2 separate regions of the Homo sapiens genome follow, and region 1 is linked to region 2. Evidence: promoter capture Hi-C in human tissues and cell types (Jung and others, 2019). All regions are on one chromosome and are shown on one strand. The core of a region is centred on a gene start or on the middle of the fragment in contact, and the rest is flanking DNA. Distances in the headings are between cores, read along the strand shown. Region 1 overlaps ACP4 (acid phosphatase 4). Region 2 holds the start of SPIB (Spi-B transcription factor).

What was found. Contacts are between HindIII fragments. The study calls those that stand out against the background at their distance.
Region 1: a contact is called between a fragment that was not itself captured here and the fragment with the promoter of SPIB in region 2, in 1 of the 25 tissues and cell types used here (spleen).

What each region holds. Positions count from the first base shown.
Region 1 is chr19:50,791,477-50,798,743 of GRCh38, forward strand. It overlaps ACP4 (acid phosphatase 4), which reads left to right. Exons shown (of 11, transcript NM_033068.3): 4 at 180-326; 5 at 597-695; 6 at 766-861; 7 at 2,208-2,340; 8 at 2,412-2,494; 9 at 2,981-3,105; 10 at 3,310-3,488; 11 at 3,567-3,743. The coding sequence ends at 3,682. It overlaps LOC105372439 (a long non-coding RNA gene), which reads right to left and starts at 1,822. Exons shown (of 4, transcript XR_936026.3): 1 at 1,489-1,822; 2 at 929-1,028. It also overlaps the pseudogene C19orf48P. RefSeq lists enhancers at 2,809-2,868, 2,959-3,088, 5,509-5,628 and silencers at 3,559-3,618, 3,869-3,928. The HindIII fragment of the contact is 9,212 bases long and covers 1-7,267 here.
Region 2 is chr19:50,417,137-50,424,586 of GRCh38, forward strand. It overlaps SPIB (Spi-B transcription factor), which reads left to right and starts at 1,802. Exons shown (of 6, transcript NM_003121.5): 1 at 1,802-1,849; 2 at 2,810-2,837; 3 at 5,337-5,409; 4 at 5,687-5,901; 5 at 6,469-6,619. The coding sequence starts at 1,827. POLD1 (DNA polymerase delta 1, catalytic subunit) reads left to right here. Exons shown (of 27, transcript NM_002691.4): 26 at 36-133; 27 at 706-878. The coding sequence ends at 811. RefSeq lists silencers at 429-568, 599-658, 941-1,109 and an enhancer at 2,649-2,698. The HindIII fragment of the contact is 45,060 bases long and covers 1-7,450 here.

The DNA of each region.
Region 1 (7,267 bases), core at 2,645-5,144, 380 kb after region 2:
CAACTGCTCCTGACATTAGCCTCTGGACCCTTGATCCCAACTTCCAACTTCGAAGGCCACATGATTCTCAGTGTCTGACCCCTACTCCAAAGTGAATCTGAGGCTTCTGATTTGCCACGACAGCTGACCTCTGTCCCCAACCACGACCCCCCGCGTGCCCTCTCTCCACCCCGCTCCAGGTGTACATCCGCAGCACGGACTTTGACCGCACGCTGGAGAGTGCCCAGGCCAACCTTGCCGGGCTGTTTCCCGAGGCTGCTCCAGGGAGCCCCGAGGCCCGCTGGAGGCCGATCCCGGTGCACACGGTGCCCGTGGCTGAGGATAAGGTCAGGGGGCTGGACCCACGTGTGGCGAGGGAGGGAGCGGGTGGAGAGAGAGGCAGCTCTGGGTCTGGCCGCCTGAGCTGGCTCCGAGAAGCAAGACTGTCCTCGAGCTGGTCTGTCCAGACCAGGGTGAGCCCCGGCCCACGCTGCTCTCCTGGATCTGGGAGAAACTGCGACAAAGACGCAGGGGCCGAGAGCCCGGGTTCCCCCGACCCGCTGTGAGACCCAAGGCAAGGCACACGGCTGTCCTCTCTGAGACTCAGTTTTCCCCAGCTGCTGAGGTTCCCCATGCGCAGCTGTCCCCGATACCACGAGCTGCTGCGGGAGGCCACCGAGGCCGCCGAGTACCAGGAGGCCCTGGAGGGCTGGACGGTGAGCAGGGCGGCGGTGGGGGGCGGGATGCAGGGGATGGGCCTGGGCTCACCCAGCCCCGCGCATCCAGGGCTTCCTGAGTCGCCTGGAGAACTTCACGGGACTGTCGCTGGTTGGAGAGCCACTGCGCAGGGCATGGAAGGTTCTGGACACCCTCATGTGCCAGGTGAGCCCTGCCCCTTCCCAGCCAAGGGTTTAAGGACACCTGTTTCCAATCCCAGCTTGCTACTCACTAGCTGTGTTCCCTCAGGCATGTAGTTAATCCTCTGTGCCTCAGTTTTCCCATCTGCACAGTGGGGATGGCAACACCGGTATCAACACCTCCCCAGGACGCTGTGAGGATTCAAATGGGTTAATCCACGCACTGTGCTTACAATAGTGCCTGGTGTACAGTGAGGGCCTTGCCAGGGTTTGAGGCTACACATTTGGCAACTCCTCCCCACAGTCCTATAATCAGAAAACCCAAAACCTGGGCAGCGGGAGCTGACCTGAAATGATGCAATGCTTTTTTTTTTTTTTTTTTTTTTGGAGACAGGATCTCACTCTGTCACCCAGGCTGGAGTGCAATGGCATTATCATAGCTCACTGCAGCCTCCATCTCCCTGGCTATAGGAATTCTCCTGCCTCAGCCTCCCAAGTAGCTGAGGCAGGCAGGGGCACACCATCATGCCTGGCTAATTAAAAAAAAATTAATTTTTTGCAGAGATGGGGTCTATGTTGCCCAGGAACTCCTGGGCTCAAACAATCCTTTCGCCTCCCCAAGAGCTGGGATTACAGGCGTGAGCCACCATACCCAGCTAGTACTCTTGCTAGTCTTTGCTCACTCCAGCTCACGGGAATGTTCTGAATCGCAGGGTGGGAGCAGTGATGTGTGTGACTAAGGGGGCTGCCCCGGCCCTTGCTGTGTGTGTTCCATGCTGTGTGGTGTCAGCACCATCAGACCTTTCTAAAGTCCAGAATGTCTGAGCTGTGAAATACCTCTGGCCCCAGGGGTTTCAGATAAAGCCTTCTGGGCTGTGTAATGACGATGTCTATTATTAACTAATAATCGCTGTTGGCTGGGTGTGGTGGCTCACACCTGTAATCCCACCACTTTGAGAGGCTGAGGTGGGCAGATCACCTGAGGTCAGGAGTTTCAGACCAGTCTGACCAACACGGTAAAACCCCGTCTCTACTAAAAATAAAAAAAAAAAATTAGCCAGGAATGGTGGCACACACTTGTAATCACAGCTACTTGGGAGGCTGAGGCAGGAGAATCACCTGAACCCGAGAGGCAAGGGTTGCAGACAGCCAAGATTGCGCTACTGCACTCCAGCCTAGGTGATGGAGCAAGGCTCCGTTTCAAAACAAAAAACAACAACAAAAAAACACTGTTATCCACATCATGATTTCCCAGCCAGATCCAGATCCGGCCCATGGGGGGACTCAGAAGAGCAGGGGGCAGCACAGGCCTGCGGGGCCAGAGGCAAACTCGAGGGCTCAGGATGGTCCATCTGTCCTGTCTCCCCACAGCAAGCCCACGGTCTTCCACTACCAGCCTGGGCCTCCCCAGATGTCCTGCGGACTCTTGCCCAGATCTCGGCTTTGGATATTGGAGCCCACGTGGGCCCACCCCGGGCAGCAGAGAAGGCCCAGCTGACAGGGGGTGAGGTGTGGGTCTGGGAGGCTGGGGTGCCTTCCTCTGGGAGAGTCTAAGCTCTTTTTTCCCATCCTCAGGGATCCTGCTGAATGCTATCCTTGCAAACTTCTCCCGGGTCCAGCGCCTGGGGCTGCCCCTCAAGATGGTCATGTACTCAGCTGTGAGTCCTTGGGAAGCAGTGCCACATGGCACTGAGGCACAGGGATGAGGGTGACAGCGATTTAGGTGAGGAAGAGCCTGTGGTCCCAGTGGATCTCAGCCCACTGCCTGGGGTAACCCGTATCTCCAAACCCTACTCTCAGGCTCTACCATTAGTCTGGAAAGAGGGAGGTGACGGTGTTATGGGAGGAAGAATTTATGAATAAATATAATTCCTTGTTTTCTTTAAGAAACTATGATTGGACTAAGCAGTCTGTCCTTCCGGAGGAGAAAGGCTGCTTAGTCCAATCATATTTTGCACCTACTTGAGCAATCTTTATTAAGTGGCCGCCTGCAAATGTTGGTACTGCCTTCAGGATGGGAGGAAGGAGTAGCTTTGGGGGGTTGGTTCTAAGAAGCCTGGGGGACATCTGGATGCGCAAGTGTAGTGCTCAGGAGAAAGGCCTCCAGAGAGAAGTGCCGTCTCAGCCCTCGGGTCCACCTGCAGCATGACAGCACCCTGCTGGCCCTCCAGGGGGCCCTGGGCCTCTATGATGGACACACCCCGCCATATGCTGCCTGCCTCGGCTTTGAGTTCCGGAAGCACCTGGGGAATCCCGCCAAAGATGGAGGGTGAGAATGGTTTGGTGCCCAGGGACATGGGTGGGACAGAACTCTCAAAGCAAGGGGTGATGTGTCAGGCAGAGGGCATGGCCAGGTGGGGAGCTGCATGGGATGATGCTGGGAGGATGACAGGTGGGAGTCAGAAGCCCTTTTCTCCAGGCTTTAAGATCAATGACAGGAGGGAGGAGGTGCCACCATGTCCTCTCTCTCCAGGAATGTCACCGTCTCCCTCTTCTACCGCAATGACTCCGCCCACCTGCCCCTGCCTCTCAGCCTCCCCGGGTGCCCGGCCCCCTGTCCACTAGGCCGCTTCTACCAGCTGACTGCCCCGGCCCGGCCTCCCGCCCATGGGGTCTCCTGCCATGGCCCCTATGAGGCTGCCATCCCCCCAGGTGACAGTCCTCTGTGTTGGGGTGGGAGTGGAGGGTTGCCAAGTCCTGGCACTCACCCCCCGCGTGTTCTCCCTGCAGCTCCAGTGGTGCCCCTGCTGGCCGGAGCTGTAGCTGTGCTGGTGGCACTCAGCTTGGGGCTGGGCCTGCTGGCCTGGAGACCAGGGTGCCTGCGGGCCTTGGGGGGCCCCGTGTGAGCCAGAAACCAGGGCTTCCCTACCCCCAGCTGACACTGGACCCCAACATGTATGCTCAGTAGCTGCTCTGGCTTCTGTGACTTACTGTGCGCCTGTGTGCATGGGGAGCGAGGGCTGTGTGGAGTCTCCGGCCTGGAAACTAGTTTGTGTGTGCATGTGTCTGTGTGACGGTGGCATGAGTGTGCATGCATACGTGTCACATGTGTGAACAGTTTCTGCACTTAGACGCGTGCACAGGTGGTCTGTACGTACATGCTGGTAAAAAACATGTCTGTGACACACATTCAAGCACAAATGTACCCATGTCTGAACAAGCAGGCATGCCTGCATGGCACTTTTCTTGTAGAGACAAGGTCTTTGTGGCCCAGGCTGGAGTACTGGCATGAGCATAGCTCACTGCAGCTTTGAACTCCTGTCTCAAGTGACCCTCCTGTTTCAGCTTCTACAGGCGTGCACAATGCCTGGTTAATTTTGTTTTCTTGGTATGTTGGCCAGGTTGGTCTCAAATTCCTGGCCTCAAGCAATCCTCCTGCCATGGCCTCCCAAAGCACTGGGATTACAGGTGTGAGCCACCACACCCAGGTGGTATGTTTATGCACCTTTCCATATGAGCACTGGAAGCAGGTAGGCTGGCTGAGGACATGGTGGACCCTGTACGTACCTCCACTTGCAGCTTGTGACAAGGCCTTACTCAGTGAGCCTCAATGTGGACCATGTGCTCTGTGGAGACCAGGCTCACAGGAGTTGGACCCTCAAGTCTGGTTATTTGGTGACCTCCATAGCTCTCAATGCAACCATGAACTTGGGTAGAGTCAGAGGGATCTGGCAGCAGACCTGAGAAAGGTGCACGATTCAAAGCCTGGTTTCCGAGGCTGTGCGCCTCTGGGCAAGTGATAGGCCCTGATGTGTCTCACTTGGCAGAACCACGACTCTAACCCAGTGGACTCCACAACTCCAAAAATTAACTTCCTAGGGACAGGTAGAGAGCAGGGAAAACCGATGACACTCTCGGCTGTGCACTGTAACTGCTACAAGTAATGTGGAGGCGCTGGCCAATACAGTAGCCATGACCATGTATGGCTATTTAAATTTAGGTTAAATAAAATGGAGTGTTCAGCTCCCAACCATCACATGGGCCACACATCCACCACTGCAATCATTTCTCAGATGCTGATGAGAGCTACTCCTCCCACACTCATGCAGCAGCAGGCGCTGTGGAGCACCTGCACGGGTGCCCTTTGAGCCCCTGGCCCCCCAAGGGGAGGCTCCCATAGTGTGGCCTAGAGCAGAGCGCCCGCCCCTCCCAGGCCTTGCCCCACACCCATGGCTGTGTGGCACTGTCTAACCAGGGAACCCGTAGGGAGCCCTGGTACAGTGGATGCTTAATAACAGCCACTTGGCCCCCATTAGATGGGGCAGTCGGAGAAAGGTTCAAAGCCATTCCCAGTGACCCAGGACCTAAAAAAGGCACAGGATCCAGAAACGCCAGGGAGTGGAAGCTGGGACAACCCTTCCTCCACACAAGGGCCACCTGCATACTGCCCTAGCCCATTTCTTCCCAGGGTGCTGAGGGCAGCCTCTCATGCAGACTCATCCCTGGGGAGTCCCCAGACCTGCCTCACTGCCCTACCCGGCATTCCCTAGAGGAGCTGGGTGGTCATGGGCCACCCCAGATGGATGCCAGGAGCCACGACCCTGGGAAGGCTGAGGAATGAACACCCCTCACACTTTCTGGCCCTGGGAGGGAGCCTGGCTTCCTTGCAGGTTCATGGAGACCCCAAGTGCCAGGTGGGGTTACCTGTGGCTGTGACCAACTCCCACCTGGTGGCAAGAGCCCACCCTTTCCCAGCAGCCTGCTGGAAGGACCTGTTCAGAGCTGGGGGCCTGCTAGTGGGCAGAGGCCTGGGTGGCTCCCCCTGGACGCAGCTCAGCAGCTGAACCCACAGAGGATGAAGCACCAGAGTTTGGAGTGTTCTGTCCGCTGTTTAACAGGGGCCCCTGTGCCCAAGGCCTCAGCTGTGAGGTCAGAACTGCTAGGGCTCAGTGAGTCCTCACAGAGCTGTCACCTGAGATTCCGGCCCCAGCACACCCTAAACCCAGACCAACACAGAAGCCACACACAGCAAAAGCAGACCCATCAGAAGGGACTGGCTGCCCACAGCACACAGCCAATGCACGCTTTCAGAGAAGGCATAGCAACAGAGACCTTAAGAGAAAACCCGTGACAGGCCAGGCATGGTGGCTCACACCTGTAATCCCAGCACTTTGGGAGGCCGAGGTGGGCGGATCACCTGAGGTCATAAGTTTGAGACCACCATGGCCAACAATGGTGAAACCTCATCTCTACTGAAAATACAAAACTAGCCAGGCGTGGTGGCAGGTGCCTGTAATCCCAGCTACTCCGGAGGCTGAGGCAGGAGAATCACCTGGACCCAGGAGGTGGCGGTTACAGTGAGCTGAGATTGCGCCATTGCACTCCAGCCTGGGCATCAAGAGCAAAACAGTCTCAAAAACACAAAACAAACCAATCCTTATAAAAACGGAGTAAAAGCTTCAAGATGCTTTTATGTCAAGGGTGTGGGGTTGCCCTGCTTGGCCTGCAGTGCTTTGGGGCCCCATGTGGTGGAGGGGTGGGCACCCATGGTACCCACCCACCCTGCTGCCTGGGCAGAAGTGCAACATGGCACACGATGCCTGGGGGATCACTCCCCCCAGGGACTCATGGTCAGTGTCCACTCACAAGGCCTGCTTCCCTCATGACATCTGGCCAGTGACACCCACAGGGGAGGTTGGGGGCAGACACCCTTCTCTTCCGGTACCCTTGAACATGGTGTCAGGGTGTGGCTAGCTCGACGGACACCGAACAGCTCCACAGGGAGGGTAGTGCCCAAGGCTTTTTGCCTCCCCTACCATGTCCCGCACTTCCTGAATGCAGCTCAAACCAGGAGCAGCTCCCCCAGGATTCTGGCCTGCTTCACCCCTGGAGCACCAGGCCAGGCGGTGTCTGTCCTTGAGAGCCAGGCCCAGGTCTCACGGTGGCGTATGGACAGCTCCTCCCCATAGGCCTGGTCACAATAGGGAAGCGGGGGTGGCTCCTCCCCTAGCCTGCAGGAAGCCCTTGGTAGCCCACTTATCCACCTTCTCCTGGGTGTGTGGCTCAGCAGCCAAGTCCTTGTGCACTGGGTTGGGTCCCAGCATGAGCCTGGTGGCCTGGCGGGCCCTGGCACCATGGAGAGCAGCCTGCTGCCAGTGATGGCCTGGATCTCCAAGACGGCCTCCAGCACTGTCATGCCCTTGACCAGCTAGTGCTGGTACAGGACCTGGGTAACAGGCATGTCCTTGGGCGTCACTGGCTCAGGGGCAGAGGACGAGGTTGAGGAGGAAGCTGGATACCCCTGTCCATGGTGGGCTGGGGCTGGAAGGGTGGCTCAGTGGCCTCGAAGTGCCGGGAGGACTCCCAGCTGGCACCAGGCCATCAGCAGCCGGGTGGGCAGTGCCGTGCTGCTGTTGCCCTCAGGGCCTTGCAGTGGTAGCTGAAGATGGCACCTTATCAGGTTGGATCAGGTCACCCGGCAGCAGCAGCTC
Region 2 (7,450 bases), core at 552-3,051:
GCGGGGGCGCCCTGCTCAGCCGCTGCCGTCCCCAGGTATCCCATCTGAATGCCCTGGAGGAGCGCTTCTCGCGCCTCTGGACGCAGTGCCAGCGCTGCCAGGGCAGCCTGCACGAGGACGTCATCTGCACCAGGTGTGTGCCATGTCCCGACCCTGGGCTGCCCCGCCCCTTCCCAGCTCCCAGGCCTGTGGGTTGTGGACCCAACCTCTGACTCCAAGGCCTCTCCTGAGCATCCTCCCCGCCCATCCCCTTCCAGCTGTGAGCTGTCCTGAGCCTCAGTGTCCTTGTCTGAAAAATGGGCCCATCCCAGCCCCCCAGAGGGGGTGGGTGCTTAGGGAGGCAGCGCCCGGCACCCAGTGTTGCCCGGGAAACGGCTGTCCTCCCGACACACCCAGCCAGCCTGGCCCCCTCCCCAGGGCGGGGCCGGGCTTTCCCCAGGGAACGGGTAGGCGGGGTGGGTTCCCACGCCAGGTGACAGGTGATATACGGCCAGCCATGGCCCTGCACCTCGCCAGGCACCCGCTGTTATCGGCTCCCCCCCCCCACCCCCCCCGTGCCTGCTGAGCAAACAGCCCGCTGCGGGAGGGGGCGGGTGGGCTGGGCAGCAGGCGGGGACCAAAGTCCTGGGAACAGCCCCCACCCCTCTCCCAGGCTGGGCACTGGGCCTTGGCTGGTCCTGACCCTGCCCCTGCCCCCACCCGCAGCCGGGACTGCCCCATCTTCTACATGCGCAAGAAGGTGCGGAAGGACCTGGAAGACCAGGAGCAGCTCCTGCGGCGCTTCGGACCCCCTGGACCTGAGGCCTGGTGACCTTGCAAGCATCCCATGGGGCGGGGGCGGGACCAGGGAGAATTAATAAAGTTCTGGACTTTTGCTATATGGTGCTTTGTGGTCTCTGGGGGACACTGTCTGGTTTCATAAGCCCTGGCCTTGGCTGGGACCCTCCTGAGGCCCGCACCGCCCCTCATCCTCAGCAAAAGCCCCCGGACTCCCACCTGTGCTGCCTGGTTCATGTGGGCCAAGCCTGCCTCAGTTTCCTCTCTGGCCCTGAAGGAACCCTTATACCAGCGCTTCTCTGCCCTGCTTAGGGCCCCCAGGTGTCTGGCCCCGGCCCAGCCCTCCCTGGTGATGACCCTGGGGACCCTGGTGGCTGCCCCGCCCTCCAGGTGCTGACCTGTTTCCTCCAGGCCCTGGGGCAGCCCCAGGCGCACCGGGGCTTCCACTCCTCAGCCCGGCCAAGGGGACCCCCCCATCCCCCGCCGGACCACACACCCACGATGTTTCCACGTCGGGGTCCTGGCAATGGGCTTTGGGTCTGGGTTTCCCCCCAGCGACTCCCATCTCTATCCCCGCAGCCTCTAACTGCCGTCAGATGCCCTCGGCCCTCCCGTCACCTCACACATCCCCCGGGGAGAGTCTTGTGCTTGCCCCTCGGCCCCCAGCCCGCCCCTGCTGGAATTCGGCTCCTGGGTCCAGATCCTCCGTTTCCTGATTCTCCTCTTCAGTGAACCCCAGCCCTTCCTCGATGTTTTCAGGGTTCCCCCAAATCCAGCTCCTGTCCCATCTCCAGCCCTCAAGGTCAGCCCCCCAAACCCAGCCCCACGGGGATCCCCAAATCCAGACAGCCCCTGGCCCGCCATCCCTGCCATGTGACAAAGGGGTTGTGCAATCCAGCCCCCTCCCCTGACCCCCTCCCTGAGGGGATTTTTGAGGAGGGCCGAGCTTGTGGCCAGCGGGCACCCTCCTCCCCCCGGCAGGGGCTGGGCCAAGATATAAATAGGGTTGGCGGCTGCAGCGGGCGGCAAACAGCCCGCCCGGCACCACCATGCTCGCCCTGGAGGCTGCACAGTAAGTGAGGGCCCCCAAACCTGCACCCGGGGTCCCCACCTGCACTGCCCCTCTGTGGGGCCTCACCCATGGGCAGTGGTTTCTCTGCTCCTCACGGCCGGTGGGTGGGAGTGGAGGGGAGGGGTCCACCCTGTCTCTTGCCCCTTCTGGTTCTGTTCCCTCTTCACTTCGGACTCTCCATCCCCCCAGTTCCTATCTTTCCTGGTCCCCAAAGATCTCATTTCCCCAGAACACTTGCTAGCGTGCCCTCCTGCGGGCGTCCTCCGTGGCTCTCACTCTGTCCATCCTCCTGTCTCCCCGAGTTCCCGTATCTGTTCGCTCTGTATCTGGCATCTCCCAGCTCTCAACATTCTGCCTGTTGCTCTCTGTCTCTCTGCCTGTCTCTGTGTCTCTGTCTCCAGTTCTCGCTCTCCCTGCCTTTTGGTCTCCTTCTGCCTCACCCTCACTCTCAGTGCCTCCATCTGGGGCTCCAGGAATCCTCCCCGCCTCTGTGCGTGAATGTCCCTTTGCACACCTTTCTCTGTGTCCCACCTCTCCTTGAGCCTCCTCATCTGAGTCTTCTCCGGGCTTCCCCCTCTCTACCCAGACATCTCTCCATCCTTCTCCTCTGGTCCAAGCTGGACTCAACTGACTCGCCACCAAGGCCGCACTTGACCCAGGCCCCCTCTCCATCCCCACACCTCCTTTCCGGGACTTTCTCTCCCTCACTTTCCCTGCCCCTCCCCACCAGGGTGTCTATGCAAATTCTGGGGAGGAGGGGGACATTTGCCTCCCCCCCACCCCCCACTTCCTGTCCCAGCAGGGGGTAGTGGGGGAGTCCGGTGAATGTGGTGGGGCTGGTCCCTCACACAGGGCTGCGGTGGTCACAGCTGCTGCCGCCTCCCCATCAGCCCCCAACCACTTTGAGATTCAGGTGGCTGGAGGCAGCCTCAGCATGCCCCTGTGTCTCTCCCCCTCCAGGCTCGACGGGCCACACTTCAGCTGTCTGGTGAGTTGGGGCCCCTGGGGGCCAGGGAGGGGTGGCCCACAGTGACCTCCCTCAGAGAAGTCATTTGCTTCCTGCCTCAGTTTCCCCTCCCACCTCTTCCTGTCACTTTGTTTCTGAGCTCCCCCTTGGTATCTCCTGCTACCCCGCATCCGTATTTTTGATGTCTCTCTCCCCCTCTCAGGCTTGAATCCACTTCCTTGTGGCTTTGTATCTCTCTCTGCCCATCCCATATTCAGACAATGTATTTTCATGTTCCTTTCCTTCTTTTTGTTCGTATTTTTAAAAATTGTGTTCTCTAACAGTTCAGATACGGAATACTATACCCAACACCCTTGAACCCACAATCCAGTCTGAGTAATCAAATCTTACTGATGTGGTTGAAAGAAAGCCCCTGTTTATGCCCCTCCACATTCACACCCCAGCCATGTTTTTTTTGTTTGTTTTTGTTTGTTTGTTTTTTAATTGAAGTGTAACTAACAAGTCAGTAAAGTGACAAATCTTGTGTTTTTGCATTATCTATACACCGTGTAGCCACAAGCCAGATCAAGATACCGAACATTTCAATCTCTGAAATATTCCTTCCTGTCCCTTCTCAGTCAATACCTTTCTCTGATATTTTCCGCCACCAATTTGTAATTTGTTTTGCCTGCTCTTTTTTTTGTTTTGCTTTTTGAGAAGGAGTCTCGCTCTGTCACCCAGGCTGGAGTGCAGTGGCAGCGTCTTGGCTCACTGCAAGCTCCACCTCCCGGGTTCAAGCAATTCTCCTGCCTCAGCCTCCCAAGTAGCTGGGATTACAGGCATGTGCCACCATGCCCAGCTAATTTTTGTATTTTTAGTAGAGGCAGGGTTTCACCATGTTATCCGGGCTGGTTTCAAACTCCTGAGCTCAAGTGATCCTCCCACCTCAGCCTCCCAAATTGCTGGGATTACAGGCGTGAGCCACCGCACCCAGCTGCCTGCTTTTGAACTTTATGTAAAGTGAGTCATACAGCATGTCCCTTTTGGGGTCTGGCTTCCCTCACTCAACATGAAGTGTGTGTCAGTGTTTGTCCTTTTTCCTTGCTGTATAGTACTCTATCTATGATCAGCCCACACCACAGTCTGTTTATCCCTTCTTCTGTTGATGACACCTGGGCTGTTTCCAGTTGGAGACTCATAATAAAGCTGCTGGGATGATTCTGGAACAAGGCTATTTTGTGCACATCCATTTTCAGTTCTCTTGATTAAATGCCAAGGAGTGAGACTGCCAGGTCCTAGGCATGGTGTGGATCTAGCTTTAGTTTTTCCTAGACTCGAGTTCTTGAAGCAACAACACATGATTCATGGGGCGAATCAACATATGGAGATTTATTTATTTATTTATTTATTGAGACAGAGTTTTGCTCTGTCGCCGGGCTGGAGTACAGTGGTGCGATCTCGGCTCACTGCAACCTCAGCCTCCTGGGTTCAAGCGATTCTCCTGCCTCAGCCTCCCAAGTAGCTGGGACTACAGGTGCGCACCACCATGCCTGGCTAATTTTTGTATTTTTAGTAGAGACGGGGTTTCACCATGTTGGCCAGGCTGGTATCGATCTCCTGACCTCATGATCTGCCTGCCTTGGCCTTCCAAAGTGCTGGGATTACAGGCATGAGCCACCATGCCCGGCCTATTTATTTTTCGAGACAGAGTCTCACTCTGTCACCCAGGCTGGAGTGCAGTGGCGCGATCTCAGCTCACTGCAACCTCCACCTCCCAGGTTCAAGCGATTCTCCTGCCTCGGCCTCCAGAGTAGCTGGGATTACAGACATCTGCCACCAGGCCCAGCTAATTTTTGTATTTTCAGTAGAGATGGGGTTTCCCCATGTTGTGCAGGCTGGTCTCGAACTCCTGACCTCAGGTGATTCACTGGCCTCAGCCTCCCAAAGTGCTAGGATTACAGGCGTGCGCCACCACGCCTAGCTAATTTTTGTATTTTTAGTAGAGACGGGATTTCACCATGTTGGCTAGACTGGTCTTGAACTCCTGACCTCAGGTGATCTGCCCGCCTCGGCCCCCCAAAGTGTTGGGATGACAGGCGTGAGCCACCACGCCTGGCCTGGAGGTGTATTTAAAAAGCATTGACCCCTGCCTCTGTTAAGTGAAACACTTCCATTTCCCCTTGCCCTTCACCTCCGGAGCCCCCAGGCAGGCAAGGCTGGGGGAGTTCTTCCACCCCTTCTCCAGGCGCCCTGATTCGCTGACTGTGTGCCAGTGAGGGGCCAGGGTTCTTGGGAGCCCACCGTCTTAGCAGGAGCTGGCTGCTGTGTGCCCCTATTGGGTTGTGTCTCTACTCTCTGTATCTCTGTCTCTTTGTCCCTGTCTCTGATGCCTAGTCTCTGTGTTTCTTTGTTGCTCTAATCTCTCCAGCATCCCCTCTTCTCTCCCATGTCTGTGTTGGAGTCTCCCCAAGGGTCCAGGGTGGGGGTTGGGAGTCCCCAAGGCCTGGGATGACCCCTCTTCCCTCCTGCACCCCGTATCAGTACCCAGATGGCGTCTTCTATGACCTGGACAGCTGCAAGCATTCCAGCTACCCTGATTCAGAGGGGGCTCCTGGTGAGTGACCCCAGCCCTGTGCCCTTCCTGCCTTGGGGCCCATTTCACAGATAGGGGAGCTGAGGCCCAGGGGAGGTCATTTCCTAGCACAACAGGATAAAGGTGGCCCGGGCCTATAGCCCTCCTCCCCTTTCCTCTCCTACCCATCCGCTCCTCCATGCAAATCCTGGGGTCAGAGATTTGCACAGCCTACAATGGCCTCTCTGTGCTGGGGGCTTCGACTGCGAGGAGGCCTCCGTGAGACATCCCAGCTTCTGACTCAGTGCCCTTCCCCCAGACTCCCTGTGGGACTGGACTGTGGCCCCACCTGTCCCAGCCACCCCCTATGAAGCCTTCGACCCGGCAGCAGCCGCTTTTAGCCACCCCCAGGCTGCCCAGCTCTGCTACGAACCCCCCACCTACAGCCCTGCAGGGAACCTCGAACTGGCCCCCAGCCTGGAGGCCCCGGGGCCTGGCCTCCCTGCATACCCCACGGAGAACTTCGCTAGCCAGGTGAGTGGTAAGGGGACAGTTAAAATCAAGCCCAAACCAGGTGTGGTGGTGCACGCCTGTAATCCCAGCTGCTTGAGAGGCTGAGGTGGGAGGAGGATTGCTTGAGCCCAGAAGGTCGAGGCAATCCACTGCACTCCAGTCTGGGCAACAGAGCAAGACCCTGTCTCAAAAAAAAAAAAAAAAAAGAAAAAGAAAAGAAAACTCAAGCTCAGTCATTTGGTTGAGGTTTGCTGGGTGCCGGGCACTGCATTGAGACTGCACATAGTAAGCCCTGCAGCGGCCTCCCAGGTTACGTTCCGTTGTTGCCCCTCTGAACAAGTGAGTCAAGAGAGGTAGTGACAGGAAGCCAGGGACAGGGCAGACTCGCATTACCTGTGTTGGGCCGGCTTTGAGGAGGTACCTCAGGTGTCCCCTGGCCACAGCGTGGTGATCTGAACAAAGGCCAAAATCTAGGCTGTCAACAAAGAGGGAGACCAGAGCCAGGAGGGCCACCGCCTTGGCCTGAGAGGAGGAAGTGGAGGGAGACAAGGGGTCCCTGGACATGCAGGTGACCCTGACCTTCCGCAGACCCTGGTTCCCCCGGCATATGCCCCGTACCCCAGCCCTGTGCTATCAGAGGAGGAAGACTTACCGTTGGACAGCCCTGCCCTGGAGGTCTCGGACAGCGAGTCGGATGAGGCCCTCGTGGCTGGCCCCGAGGGGAAGGGATCCGAGGCAGGTATGCGGGAGTGGCTGGGGTGGGGGAGATGCCAGCTGGAGATGGTGGGGGGGCTGAGAGCACCATGGCTTCCTGGGCCTCTACATATACTCCAGCACTCTGGGCAGCTCCCAGATCCGCACCACCTGCTGGCTGTGTGACCTTGGGTAAGTGCCTCTACCTCTCTGTGCCCAGGTTTCCTGTCTGTGCGATGGGGATGGAGGTGATAGTGTCTACCCTCCTGAGGTCGTTGGGGGGACTAAATGGGATAGTAAGTGTAAATGGGACAGCAGTGCCAGGCACAGAGTGAGCACTTCAATAAGTCAACCTCTTCACCATCATTCCCGACACCACAGCAACAGAAATGATAATGCTATCAACCCCCAACGGTTCAACCCTTGCCCCCTGCCCGTGTGCCCAACATCCTTTATGCTCAACCCCAAGAAAGCTGAGATCGTTCCTTCCTTTCTGTGTCTGGGCCTCGGTTTCTCGTCTGTAAAGTGGGCATCACTGTCATCCTCCCCATCTCACGGGGTTATGATGGAGATTCAATGAGCTCATAACTGTAAAGTGCCTTGTGAAGCACCTGGCACTACATGCTCCACGGTGCATTGTAAAAATCAACACACAGGCTGGGTGTGGTGGCTCACGCCTGTAATCCCAGCACTTTGGGAGGCTGAGGCGGTCAGATCAACTGAGGTCAGGAGTTCGAGACCAGCCTGGCCAACATGGCAAAACCCCGTCTCTACTAAAAACACAAAAATTAGGCTGGGCATGGTGGCTCATGCCTTTAATCCCAGCACTTTGAGAGGCTGAGGAGGATGGATCACGAGGTCAAGAGATCGAGACCAT